Linked DNA regions of Homo sapiens: regions 1, 2 and 3 are each linked to region 4. Evidence: promoter capture Hi-C in 16 types of primary human blood cells and fetal thymus (Javierre and others, 2016). All regions are on one chromosome and are shown on one strand. The core of a region is centred on a gene start or on the middle of the fragment in contact, and the rest is flanking DNA. Distances in the headings are between cores, read along the strand shown.

Evidence for each region. The method cuts DNA at HindIII sites, captures the fragments that hold promoters and counts their contacts. A CHiCAGO score of 5 or more calls a contact.
Region 1: a fragment that was not itself captured here is called in contact with the fragment with the promoter of ARFGEF1 in region 4 in 1 of 17 cell types (M1 macrophages); the score reaches 6.1 in M1 macrophages.
Region 2: a contact is called between a fragment that was not itself captured here and the fragment with the promoter of ARFGEF1 in region 4, in 1 of 17 cell types (fetal thymus). The highest score is 5.0, in fetal thymus.
Region 3: a contact is called between a fragment that was not itself captured here and the fragment with the promoter of ARFGEF1 in region 4, in 1 of 17 cell types (M1 macrophages). The highest score is 5.2, in M1 macrophages.

Annotation. Positions count from the first base shown.
Region 1 is chr8:67,602,316-67,605,360 of GRCh38, forward strand. The region is part of intron 2 of CPA6 (carboxypeptidase A6); the gene reads right to left. All of the region lies in intron 2 of LOC105375886 (a long non-coding RNA gene), which reads left to right. Among named protein-coding and RNA genes, the nearest start is that of CPA6, 140 kb to the right of the region's middle. The HindIII fragment of the contact is 378 bases long and covers 1,596-1,973 here.
Region 2 is chr8:67,745,630-67,748,435 of GRCh38, forward strand. It overlaps CPA6 (carboxypeptidase A6), which reads right to left and starts at 731. Exons shown (of 11, transcript NM_020361.5): 1 at 385-731. The coding sequence starts at 500. RefSeq lists an enhancer at 557-1,057. The HindIII fragment of the contact is 820 bases long and covers 994-1,813 here.
Region 3 is chr8:67,689,642-67,692,687 of GRCh38, forward strand. All of the region lies in intron 1 of CPA6 (carboxypeptidase A6), which reads right to left. Among named protein-coding and RNA genes, the nearest start is that of CPA6, 55 kb to the right of the region's middle. The HindIII fragment of the contact is 2,388 bases long and covers 502-2,889 here.
Region 4 is chr8:67,342,487-67,345,189 of GRCh38, forward strand. ARFGEF1 (ARF guanine nucleotide exchange factor 1) reads right to left here and starts at 1,295. Exons shown (of 39, transcript NM_006421.5): 1 at 678-1,295. The coding sequence starts at 801. ARFGEF1-DT (ARFGEF1 divergent transcript) reads left to right here and starts at 1,348. Exons shown (of 5, transcript NR_136224.1): 1 at 1,348-1,816. RefSeq lists an enhancer at 309-989 and silencers at 916-1,145, 1,326-1,585. The HindIII fragment of the contact is 1,332 bases long and covers 694-2,025 here.

The DNA.
Region 1 (3,045 bases), core at 535-3,034, 260 kb after region 4:
GCCTCTGCAAAAGGAATTGGGTGACTGGAGAAGAGGAATAGGAGGGGGTCTTAAAAATTGTATATCCTTTGAACATCTTGAATTTTCAACATCAATGCATTGTTACCTATTCAAAAATAAATACGTCCAACTTTTTATAAGTCCATTTGAGCCCTACATATGTCAGGACACAAAGGAGTTACTCATTGGCAGAGTAACTGATGTGCTGAGAATGAAGCACCCTAAATGTTTACTTCCCTTAAAATAGAAACAAAAGCTGATGTCTACTAAAAGGCTTCCTTCCTGTCCCTCATATCTCATCAAGTCCTGCATGAAGGCATGATTTATGACAGTTCACTGCCAGATCTTAGAGAAATATAAATAAAACCAAAATTGGAACACAACTGCTGAACTTGGAGAGTTGGAATGAGGTCAGGTTAGCGCCTCGACCGGATGTCAGGAAATTATAGCTTCATTTCTGCTGCAAGAGTAGCAGTGACTCATGTTCCCCAGCAGAAACTGAGACAAAGTCCATCATAAATACCGCATGTCATTTCTGAACCTGCTTGGGAGCTGTGAGAATTAAATGAGCTAACATTTTATAAATAATTTGGAACCCCTTGATAGAAAAGTGTTACATAAGAAGAGTTTTATAATTCTGTGCTTTCTCTATCTTCCTTAAAAAGAAAAACAAAAAACAAAAAACGAACCCAAAAGCCAATGGTCTCATTATAAGCAAGAAGCTAAGTGTGACAAAAATGATTTTTGTGTGGCCATACTGAAAAGAAATAAGTTCCTATTTTTGAGGTTCAATCTGGCCTATTACTTTAAGAAAATGCTTTTGGTTCCAAAGGTCATTTTGTTTTTAGGAATAATCCTTCTATATAGTACAAGAATTATATTCTTGAAATGTTTCCAAATTAAGTACAGGAGGTTACTTTCAGCTTTCAGTAACATACATGTATTCTTTACCTCCCAAGTGGAGAAGGATGCAGGGTTTGTCCCAAACTGTTTTAATTTTAACAATTTTTTTTTTTTACAAAATTCTTTGAAGTGAAACATTTAGGAATGTATTTAACTTCTCATTAAATTACAAACACATTTATTATATAAAGAGATCTGTACTTTATTATATTTCTTTCAGGGTTATGATTTTCTAAGTGGAATGAAGAATGTCATTAAAAGGAAGACAGGATCTATATGTTTAAAATGGCTAAGTGGAACTCATAGTCCCTAAAGCATGTCCATAGATTTTTGTTGAAAAAAGTTGAAGACAGTTAACTGTGGATTCTTTGAATAGTATTGGGAACCCTCAGATCTATAATCAGTGTTTACTAAGTTTTCCTTTACAATCACCTGGGGTTGTGGTAGTCCATATTTCGTAAGATAGTCTGAAAAAAGTACCCAGGCAAATTAGATTTTTCCCATCTACCTTCCTTTTGAGCCAAAACACTGAATCACTCAGTGCTAGGTTATTTCTAAAACTTCTCTTTGCTAACCCCAGATCAAACTAAAACTGCAGTTCTGCAATAGTTTGGTTTTGCTTTGCTTTTGCCTCCACTCTCTTTCATAGGTCTCTATGGTGTCATTAACACTTTTTGTCCTTCTGATTAAAAAGCTTACATCTTTTTCAAAAAAGGTTTCCTCTGTATATGAGGCATGAAAGGCAGAATTTGTATGTGGAAAGGGTGTGTGAACAGTAATTTGATTGGAAAGGGTGAAATGATGTTGAGAAAATGTCAATTGTCAATTTCAAAATATGTCAGCTGGTGATGGAGGTTGTGTGGGGTTAAGGTAAAATAGAGCTACAACTTATTAACCTTGGGTTATCCTAATCAGATTGGTTTGTTGTTCCTCAAAACACTGGAGTGAATGAGAACATGTGTTTCAGTAAGGAAACCAGAATCTGAGAACAGATTGTGTAAGAGAATAACAAAGATCTTCAAGGACTCGAAAAAATAGAAGGAACACATCTGGTTGTGGCAGTTAGCAAAAGCTTTCTGATGAGCTAGTGTCCGAGACTGGCCCTTCTGCCTGGTAAAGAAGGAAGCGGTGGTTATTCCCAAAGATGTGGCAATAACAGCTCACCCTCGCCTCCTTCAGACCTTTGCTCAAATGCCACATTTTTAATGATGTCTTCTTCCCTGACCGGTCATTCCATTTAAAATTACATTGCGTCCCTTACCTTTTTCCCTGCTTTACGTTTCCCTACAACCATGACCATCTGATATACCATATTTTTTACTTATTTGTTTTTTGTTAATCTCTCTCCACCACAATATGAAGTTTCTTGAGGACAGGGATTGTTGGTTGTGTTTCCTGCTGTATCCCTCAGCATCCAGAACAGTGCCTGGCACAGAGTCCCTTAATAAACATTTGTGGAATTTGTTTCTACATTTGTACATACAACGCTCAGAGACTGGGAAACATAGGACACGTGGAGATTAGAGAAAAATCTGTGGAGGTTCTATCAACTTTGCGTTTTGTTTGTTTGTTTTTTGAGATTGAGTTTCATTCTTTTTACCCGGGCTGGAGTGCAATGGTGCGGTCTCAGCTCACTGCAACCTCCACCTCCCGGGTTCAAGCGATTTTCCCGCCTCAGCCTCCCAAGTAGCTGGGACTACAGGCACCTGTCACCATGCCTAATTTTTTTTTGTATTTTTAGTAGAGATGGGGTTTCACCATGTTGGCCAGGCTGCTCTTGATCTCCTGACCTCAGGTGATCCACATGCCTTGGCCTCCAAAACTGTTGGGATTACAGCCATGAGCCACTGTGCCCAGCCACGTTTTTTTTTTTTTCTTTTTCTTTTTTTGCTCTGGATGACCTAATAACTCTCTCTGAGCTCCTTGTCTGAAGTCCAGTTTCTACTCATGGTTGTGTCCTCACAATACCATGTGTGATTCATCCAATGCCCAACATAGAGTATTCCATTTAGATCTGTTTGTGGAATGAGTATGCTTGTTAAGTTCTCAGTCTGTGTTAGATTTTCTAAAATATAAACTACATTCATCCCTTGGTATTGAATGGGGATTAATTGGTTCTAGGGCCCCCATGGATACCAAAAT
Region 2 (2,806 bases), core at 154-2,653, 400 kb after region 4:
CTCCTACATACAATTGTAAAGAAAGGCTTAGTTTTCAGGTCATAAATCATGTAGGACAACAGCATCCCCAAGCATCAACCAAGGCAAACACTGTAAATACTGACCATGGCTACTCCAAAGACAGAATCCCATTCAACCCTGGGTCCACAGCTAAGGTTGGCACATGATAAAAAGTATAAAAAGCCAGGTTGGAGCCCACCACATTCTCTCAGTGAGCTAAAGCCAAGAGCAGAGAGCTGTGAGTACATTTTATATAGAGGACCGTGAAAGTGTGCAGATTCACTCAGAGACCCCCAAATCAGAAAAAGTGAGGCACACTCTGGAGCAAACCAGCCCCCAGATCCAAATCAAAGCTGTGTAGGGCATGAATGTCGCTCCACTTACCCAGCATAGCGGTTGTTATAAAGGTGGCTGTGCCCCGGTTGCAGAATCTTCAAAAAGAGCCAGCAAAGAGGCAGGAAAGCAGCTGCCTGGCCCCTGCGCTTCCCGAGACACTTCATAGTGTTAAGAAGAGAGGAGTTGAAAGTTACTTAAGCAGCCACCCGAGGCTGGAGGTGGCTCACAGCACCCTCTACACACCGCACAGGTTCTCCGGGAAGGGGGTGGGCGAGGAAGGTTGAGAGTGAGCAAAATGTGACACTTCTCTCCAGCTACAAGGGAAAAAAAAAGTTCAGGCAGCTGAGGAAGGGAAGTTGCTATTACGACTTGGTCTTGGGACAAGCAGCAGCAGCAGCAGCAGCAGCTGAGCCTGATCTTTAATCAGGCTCCCCTAGAAAGGGCTGGGCCTCCCTCGTGCTGACTCACGGCAGGGGTTCACTGGGTGCTGCTTCCTTTGGGTGACTCCTCTCTGCTTTTGGTTTGTTTGCTTTCCCAACTTGAGGCCTCTAACTTTTCTGTGCAAGCTTTCTTTCTCTATCTTCTTCAGCATGAGGATCCTACCTAATTGCAAATGATTTGTCTGATGGGCTAAACAAGCAGACATGGATTATTCCAAGCTTAATGTTTTTTTGATCTCCCATGACAGATTCCTAAACGGATTCCACCTAATGAAATGCACAATGAACAATCATGATGAGAACGTGCACGGGGGTACCTATAGCACCCAGATCCGAACAGCTGGCTTCAGTTCACTGCTCCTGACTTACAGGAGTGGTCAGTGGCTTTATTGGGCTTCAGGGAGATCTTGGTACTCATTCTGCATCAGCAGCACCCAGACCTGCTGCTGTTTCAGAGGTTCTCGTGGGGAATAGGAGGCCTTCGAGTGCTTTGCCACCTTGGCTGTACATTTGGAATCATTTAGGGAGCCAGACCTTGAAAATAGAAACCGTGGTGGTGGGATCAGTGGTTTAAAAAGCTCCTTAGGTGATTCCAATATTCAACCACCATGCTGGTCTGGAGCAGGGCTTCTCAGAGCTCCACATGCATAGAAGTCACCTGGGGATCTCATTAAACTGCAGCTCTGACGTAGGTTGGAACAGGGGCCTAAGAGTTTTTATTTTTCTTTTTTGAGACAGAGTTTCGCTCTTGTTGCCCAGGCTGGATGGAGTGCCAAGTCCCCATCTCGGCTCACTGCAACCTCCGCCTCCCAGGTTCAAGCGATTCTCCTGCCTCAGCCTCCTGAGTAGCTCGGATTACAGGTGCCTACCACCACGCCCAGCTAATTTTTGTATTTTTAGTAGAGACGAGGTTTCCCCATGTCGGTCAGGCTGGTCTTGAACTCGTGACCTCAGGCAATCTGCTTGTCTCGGCCTTGCGAAGTGCTGGGATTACAGGTGTGAGCCACCACGCCTGGCCGAGTCTGCATTTCTAAAGAAGCTTCCAGGTGATGCTGGTGCCACTGGCTCTTCAGCCACACTTGGAGTAGCAAGACTTCACTTTAGAATGAGGTCTGCTTTTTCTTCCAAGCAAACCTTGGAGAAAACCATTTCCTTCTCTTTTTTCCCATGTTGATGATGAAAGCTTTTTAAAATTATTATTTGCATCCACTTGCTCCTATTCCAATACGCCACAAAACCCATTACAGGGGATGTGCCTCGCCCTATTAAATAAGCATAGGCACCTAGGGTGCCTCCTGTTACCTTTCATGCCCAGTCCTGGTTGTGCTCTAAAACAGAGAGTGAGCCACTATTTCCTCATCACACTCACAAAACTTTTCAGGCTTCCTGGAGAGTCATAGCCAAGAACTCCTGTACCCTCTAATACTATAGCCAGAGTCCCTGTTAGAAGAGAGAGCACCCAATCTTTCCCATCTTCTCTACCTGGGGAGTTGAACCAAAACTCCTTTGACAGATTCAATGTCAGGTTCATGAAACAGCTGAAATGGTTTTCATTTGAAATGATGCTCTGAATTTTTCTGCAACTTTCTCAGCATCAGTTTGGTTAATGCCTCCTCTGTGTCCCTCACAAATCCTGGCATGTCCTCTACTGTAGGAATTACCACATCAAATTTCTTGTCTGGTTTCCTCATGAGGCTGCTTTCTCCTTGAATACAGAACTGTATCCTTTTGGTCTTCCTGTGCACTTCCTTATACCTCCTCGAGGGAATACAATGTTTCCTGAAGGAGTGATCAACGATGTCTGTTGGATGAACGATGAACCAGGGAAGAAATTCATTTAACAAACATTAACATAGATGCTTCTGTGTCCAGATAGAGGAGAGAGCACCTTGGGAGCAGAGAACACTATGGGTGCTTTTGGAGAGTGGAAGTTCCCCGGGTGATCATGTCTGGTTTCGTTTCTTTTTTATGTTGCCTTCTTTCCTGACTTCCTGGCCTTGTACTTTTGTCTTCCTAAACTGGTCAGGCTG
Region 3 (3,046 bases), core at 446-2,945, 350 kb after region 4:
ATATGTACCACATTTTCTTTATCCAATCCACTGTTACTGGGCACCAAGCTTGAGTACATGTCTTTGCTATTGATAATAGTGCTGCGATGAACATACAAGTGCATGTGTCTTTTTGGTAGAATGATTTCTTTTCCTTTGGGTATATACCCAGTAATGGGATTACTGGGTTGAATGGTAGTTCTGTTTTAAGTTCTTCAAGAAATCTCCAAACTGCTTTCCACATTGGCTGAACTAATTTATATTCCCACCAACAGTGAATAAGCATTCCCTTTTCTCTACAGCCTTGCCAACATCTGTTGGTTTTTCACTTTTTCATAATGGCCATTCTGACTGATGTGAGATGGTATCCTCATTGTGGTTTTGATTTGCATTTCTCTGATAATGAATGATAATGAATTTTTTTATATGTTTGTTGGCTGCTTTTATGTCTTCTTTAGAGAAATGTCTGTGTATGTCTTTTGCCTACTTTTTAATAGGGTTATTTGTTTTTCTGAAGATATAAGCTTCTCATGTAGAGGAACTGTGTGTTACTCAGTTCTGTATCTTATAGGTGGTTCAATTAATGTTAATCAAATTCTATAACATTTGATCTGGCAGCTAAGTGGACTGGTCTGCATAGAATTCTCATTTTTTAGAATCAATTTTTGATATATCAGAGGTTAATATTTTTAAGATGTCGATGGCAACAGAAATAAATAATTTAGAGTTAATGAATATTAATTACTATTACAAATTAGAAGTTTAAAGATCTGTATGACTATTTCTCAGCACATCAAGTAAATTTGTTGAGAAATTTGGTTCTAGCAATCTACTTGAGATGTGTGATATTTTCAGTCACACATTCAAATCAGCACATCAGTGCTTGTTCTAAGGTATGTTATTTAAACCATAAATGCTGTGTGAAGCAATATTAGTGTTCAGAGTCAGAACTCCTGAAATTTGGACCCCTATTAAACTCTGAAAAGCAATATAAACAGCTACATCAACCAGAGAAGCTGATGTAAGACACATTAGAAGAGGAAATATTAGAAAAGAATATTAGAAGAGGAAGCATTAGAAGGAAAGTCTTATCAGCTAAAAAAAATACAAGTCAGGAAGAGTGAATCAACAGATTTTAAATTTTCAACTTCAATACATATTTAATTTTTGGCTAGATTGCAGGAAATATGTCATACTTCATATTCAAGTGTGGGATATATTTCAAGCAACAATGAAATGCCAATGAATACAAACTTAAGATAACAAATATAACTTTTCTACCAAGTTAGCATGGTACAAATTCATCTACACTAAGTTTAATGTACAAATCAGTTTTTGTATAAACACAATAATAAACAATGAGTGACTAACACCTAAATAAAAGGCATTCCCTGACGGAAAACTTTCTGTACATTAACTTGAAAATTACATTCTGGTAACTACAAGCATTTGTTACTTTTCTTTTTCCCATTCACTTAGTAATACAAAAGGAAACATTTAAAAAACAAAGAAAACGAGGAAATTCACACAAGAACCAAATATTTGTCTCTTAGCCTTCTAGAAATAACTCATATTGACTTCATACATCTGTTCAAGTAGAGTACATGCTATGGATTTATGTAAGCGCACAGCTCTACACCTGTGATCGAGGTTGGTGGTGACTATCAATATCTTTGTGTTCTTCTCCTTCCTTGGTACACTGTGGACTGTATTTTTTGGCTCCCTTAATTTAGGTGGCCATCAGTGACCAGTCTTGTCACTGGCACGTGGCTGGAAAGTGATTTATGTATCTTTCAGGCCTGTCCCCCAAAACTGCCCTTGAAATCATTTTTGCCTTTCTCTTTCCTCATTTGCTGAAGGATGCAGAGGATACACTACAAGACTGAGGCCTGAGAAGGTGGTGGGAAGACAAAATAGCCTGGATCCCTGAGTGTTTGTGGGAGCAGAGCACGCCCAGCCCCCATCACACTGTCAGGAGCAAAAAACATGCTTTTAATGCTCCTCATATATTTCTGTGACTATGTTGATTTGTGATATTTAAATTCAAGATGTAAATATCTCTGTAAAATACCTTACCAAGTTTCTTCACAGACATGTTAAAAATATATCTTATGTTTTATCTACACAGCACTTTGAAATGCTGAGTAGATTTCAGGGAATTGGCTTTTAGTAAAAATAATGAAGTAGTATATTAGTACAGGCTCATTTTAGAAGGGGGATAGTGCTTGGAAGTGTTATTTGTTTGAGACCAAAACATGAATCAATAAATTAAGACTAAACTCCAAACATTTAATTCCAACCCAGATCCTTTTCTGGTTGATAGAGAATAACTTCCTTATGAGCCATGCTGGAGTTGTTTAATTAATATGTTATCTTTTTGTCCTGGCAGTTGCCCATGCAGAGATGAAAAACAATTTTAAAGAACAAGAGATTGGGCTGGGTATGGTGGTTCAAGCCTGTAATCCCAGCACTTTGGGAGGCCGAGGCCAGCGGATCACCTGAGGTTGGGAGTTTGAGACCAGCCTGACCAACGTGGAGAAACCTCATCTCTACTAAAAATACAAAATTAGCCGGGCATGGTGGCGCATGCCTCTAATCCCAGCTACTCGGGTGGCTGAGGCAGGAGAATCGCTTGAATCCAGGAAGCAGAGGTTGCGGTGAGCCGAGATTGTACTACAGCCTGGGCAACAAGAGTGAAATCCTGTCTCAAAAAAAAAAAAAAAAAAAAAAAGAACAAGAGATTGGTAAAACTTGAGTATGAGGAAGGCATATCTCACTTGCTAAAGTGTGAACTATGTGCTGGCAGCTGCTTGAACATATAATTTTTTTCCATGAGTCTAACATAATACATTTCACCACTCTGCTATTTTATTGAAGATTCTCTGTAAAATGTTTTAATGATCAATAGTAAGCTTTTTTCCCAATTAAGATTTTTAACAGTGAAGTTTATCTTTCTTGCTATAATCTATTATGTGTAAATCATGTCTTCCTAAGCTATATTATTTCAAAAGTGTGCAGGATAAACTATTTTTCATTACAACTAGAATCACACAGAAGTGCTGCCCTT
Region 4 (2,703 bases), core at 45-2,544:
TTATCTAAAGGTTCTTTGCTTCCCTGCTTTCATGCCGCCACCCCCACCCTCACCCCTTAACCACCGGTCTTGTTCTTCCAGGTCAGCCCAGTCAGATACAATATTACTCTATGTTTTTCCTGTGGCGGAGGCGGAGAGATGTCAGAACGGGCTGCACCTCTTGCAAACCCCTTCTCAAGACTGTCAACAAGGAAACAACTTCAGCAGCCTATCTCCCCAAAGTACCTCGCCAAACGAAAAAGTTATTGTTAATTATGATACGGAACCTTTCCCACACCCAATCTTGACATACCAGCCCCACCTCAATTTCCAAGCTAATAAACAACAGCTCATCTTCTGCTTCATCACAAAGGGTGGTATCCAGTCCGCACCTCACGGACCACCAACAAAATCCTCTCACTCTCAAGTCGATCCCTCGAACCCAGGTGCCCCGCGATCCTAAGCCCTGCCGCGTTTCCCGAGCCCAGCTCACTGCCCTTCCTCCTCTACCCCGCCTCTGCCCCACATCCAGCCGAGTTCCTGTCAACTCCAGACAGGGAACAGAGGGCTCCGCGAGGGCTTCCCGAGGTCAGAGGCGCGGGCCTCGGGCAAGCCCCGGGCGACCCCACCCCCCCACAGGCGCCCCCCTCCCCGCCCCACAACAAGCACCCCATCCCCCGGGCCTCCTCCCCGCTCACCTAACGCCACCTCGCAAGCTTTGCGCAGCTGGGAGTGATGCGCCTTCTTCACTTCCTTGTCGGCCAATATCTTCTCCAGAGCCCGGGTCAGGAACATGTTCTTCGTCTTCTTCCCCTCATACATGGACGCAGAGAAGGAGGCGGCGGCTCGTCCGACCCGCGGCTCCCAGCGGCTGGAGGGGAGGAGGAGGAGAGGAAGGAAGAGAAGAGAGAAAGGAGAGGGGGTGGAGGTGGGGGATTGGAGGCGTGGAGGGCAGCGGCAGGATCAGGAAGGGGCGGGCGAGCGGGACCAGCCGCGGTGTCGGCGAAGGGCGTCGAGGTCCTCGCCGCCCCCAAGAAGCCGTACCTCGAGGGCCGCGCCCGTCGGGCCTCCGCTTCTCCCGGCCCGGGGGTCGCGTCCCGGCCGCCCCTCTCACTCGTCCCTCCGGCCCTGGTGGCGGTGAGGGAGCCCGGCCCGGGCGGCTGTCTGCCGGGAACTGAGGGACGAGGTGGCGGCGGCTCTCAGAGGCACCGCGAGAGAAGGGCTACCCTGGCTACTGTGGGGATTAGCACCCGCCGCGGCCGCGAACTGGCCCCCATCACCGCCGACCTGCCCCGGCCGCCATGTTGGGAGGAAACGACGCGTCACGCAGCGGCCGAACGGCTGCAGACGAGGAAGCGGCGGCGGCGGCGGCGGCGGCGGCGCTCCCTGCCCAGAGCTGCCGCGGCGCCGGGAGGCTGGGGGCGGAGGGCGGCGCGGGAGGAGCGGCCCGAGCCGCAGCGCTACGGCGGCCCGGCGGGGCCTCCAGCGTTCGCCTGCAGGGCGGCGTGGGGCGTGGCGGGCCTCTGGTGGCACCGCGCCCAGCACTTCGGGCTCTTGGTGGCGGCCGAGCTGCGGGACCAGAGATCCCCCCACTCGGCACCCCTGCTCCTGCCGAGTGAACAGGACTCCTGGCTACTCTGCACTGGCTTTCTAACTTTCTGATGGGGGTGCAGTCCTTTGCATTCCAGGGGTCACAGCAACACCCGCATCGCCCGTTCTCAGCCGCAGGGTCTCCGCCTGCATCACTCGACTCTAAAATTTCCTTCCCTAGTGCACGGAACTGCTGTCCAGGACTCTGCTCTCCGACTACCTCAGGGAGGATTCTGTTTTGGGAAAAGTAAGCCAAAACCTATTGATAAGGGTTCAAAAATGTTTCACTTTTTTCTCTCTCTGTCGGATAAATCGGTCAACTCTAGATTTCAGGTCCCTTCTGAATTGACTCAGTTAAGGTGAATGGTTGTGAATGAGGTCCCTTAGAGTTCTGTGTTTCTGTGCCTTTAATACTAAGATTTAGTCCAGGACATGTAAACCAGTTTAGAATGGAAAAGCTTTAAGTACAAACAGATTAACACACGTGACCATGTGTTTGCTTTAGTCTGAGTGTAGAACTCAAATTTCTGCAGTATTTAATTTCTACAGTTTCCTTCTGAGCAGAAAAAGAATACCATAAAAATATTTGCAAACATTATATATGGTGATCTAGGGTCACGTCTCCAAGTTCTAAGCTTCTGTGGCTCCACGCACACAGGTTCCCTAATGTTTACTATGCATCTGTCACTGTTCTGTTCTATTAGATTGCCTTAACTATAGGCTTGTCCTAACGTAACCATCCAAACCTAAGGAAGGAGAAACTTAAGTGACTCTGTGAACTTAGTGAAGTGACCAGATTTAGGAAGGCTAAAACCCAGAGGAAATAAAATGGAAAACTTGAAGGTGACAAATTAAAGTGGAAAAATAGATTAATTTTTTTAAACTTTATTGTCCTGAGAAACAAATCTATAAATTCATTAATTTTATTTTAGAGACTATCTCTAGATTCCTGGAAATGAAGGATTCATTATACTCTTAGATCAGATATAATACTGATTTCTGTGTATACGTTAATAAACTTTTTTAGAACAAGTTCCATTTCTTTTATTTTTTTCTTCCCTTCTTTCACAGGTGTTGATCCATTTCTAATTCATCTTTGTTTCTTCATAATGGAGTGTTGTGCCAGGTACTGTT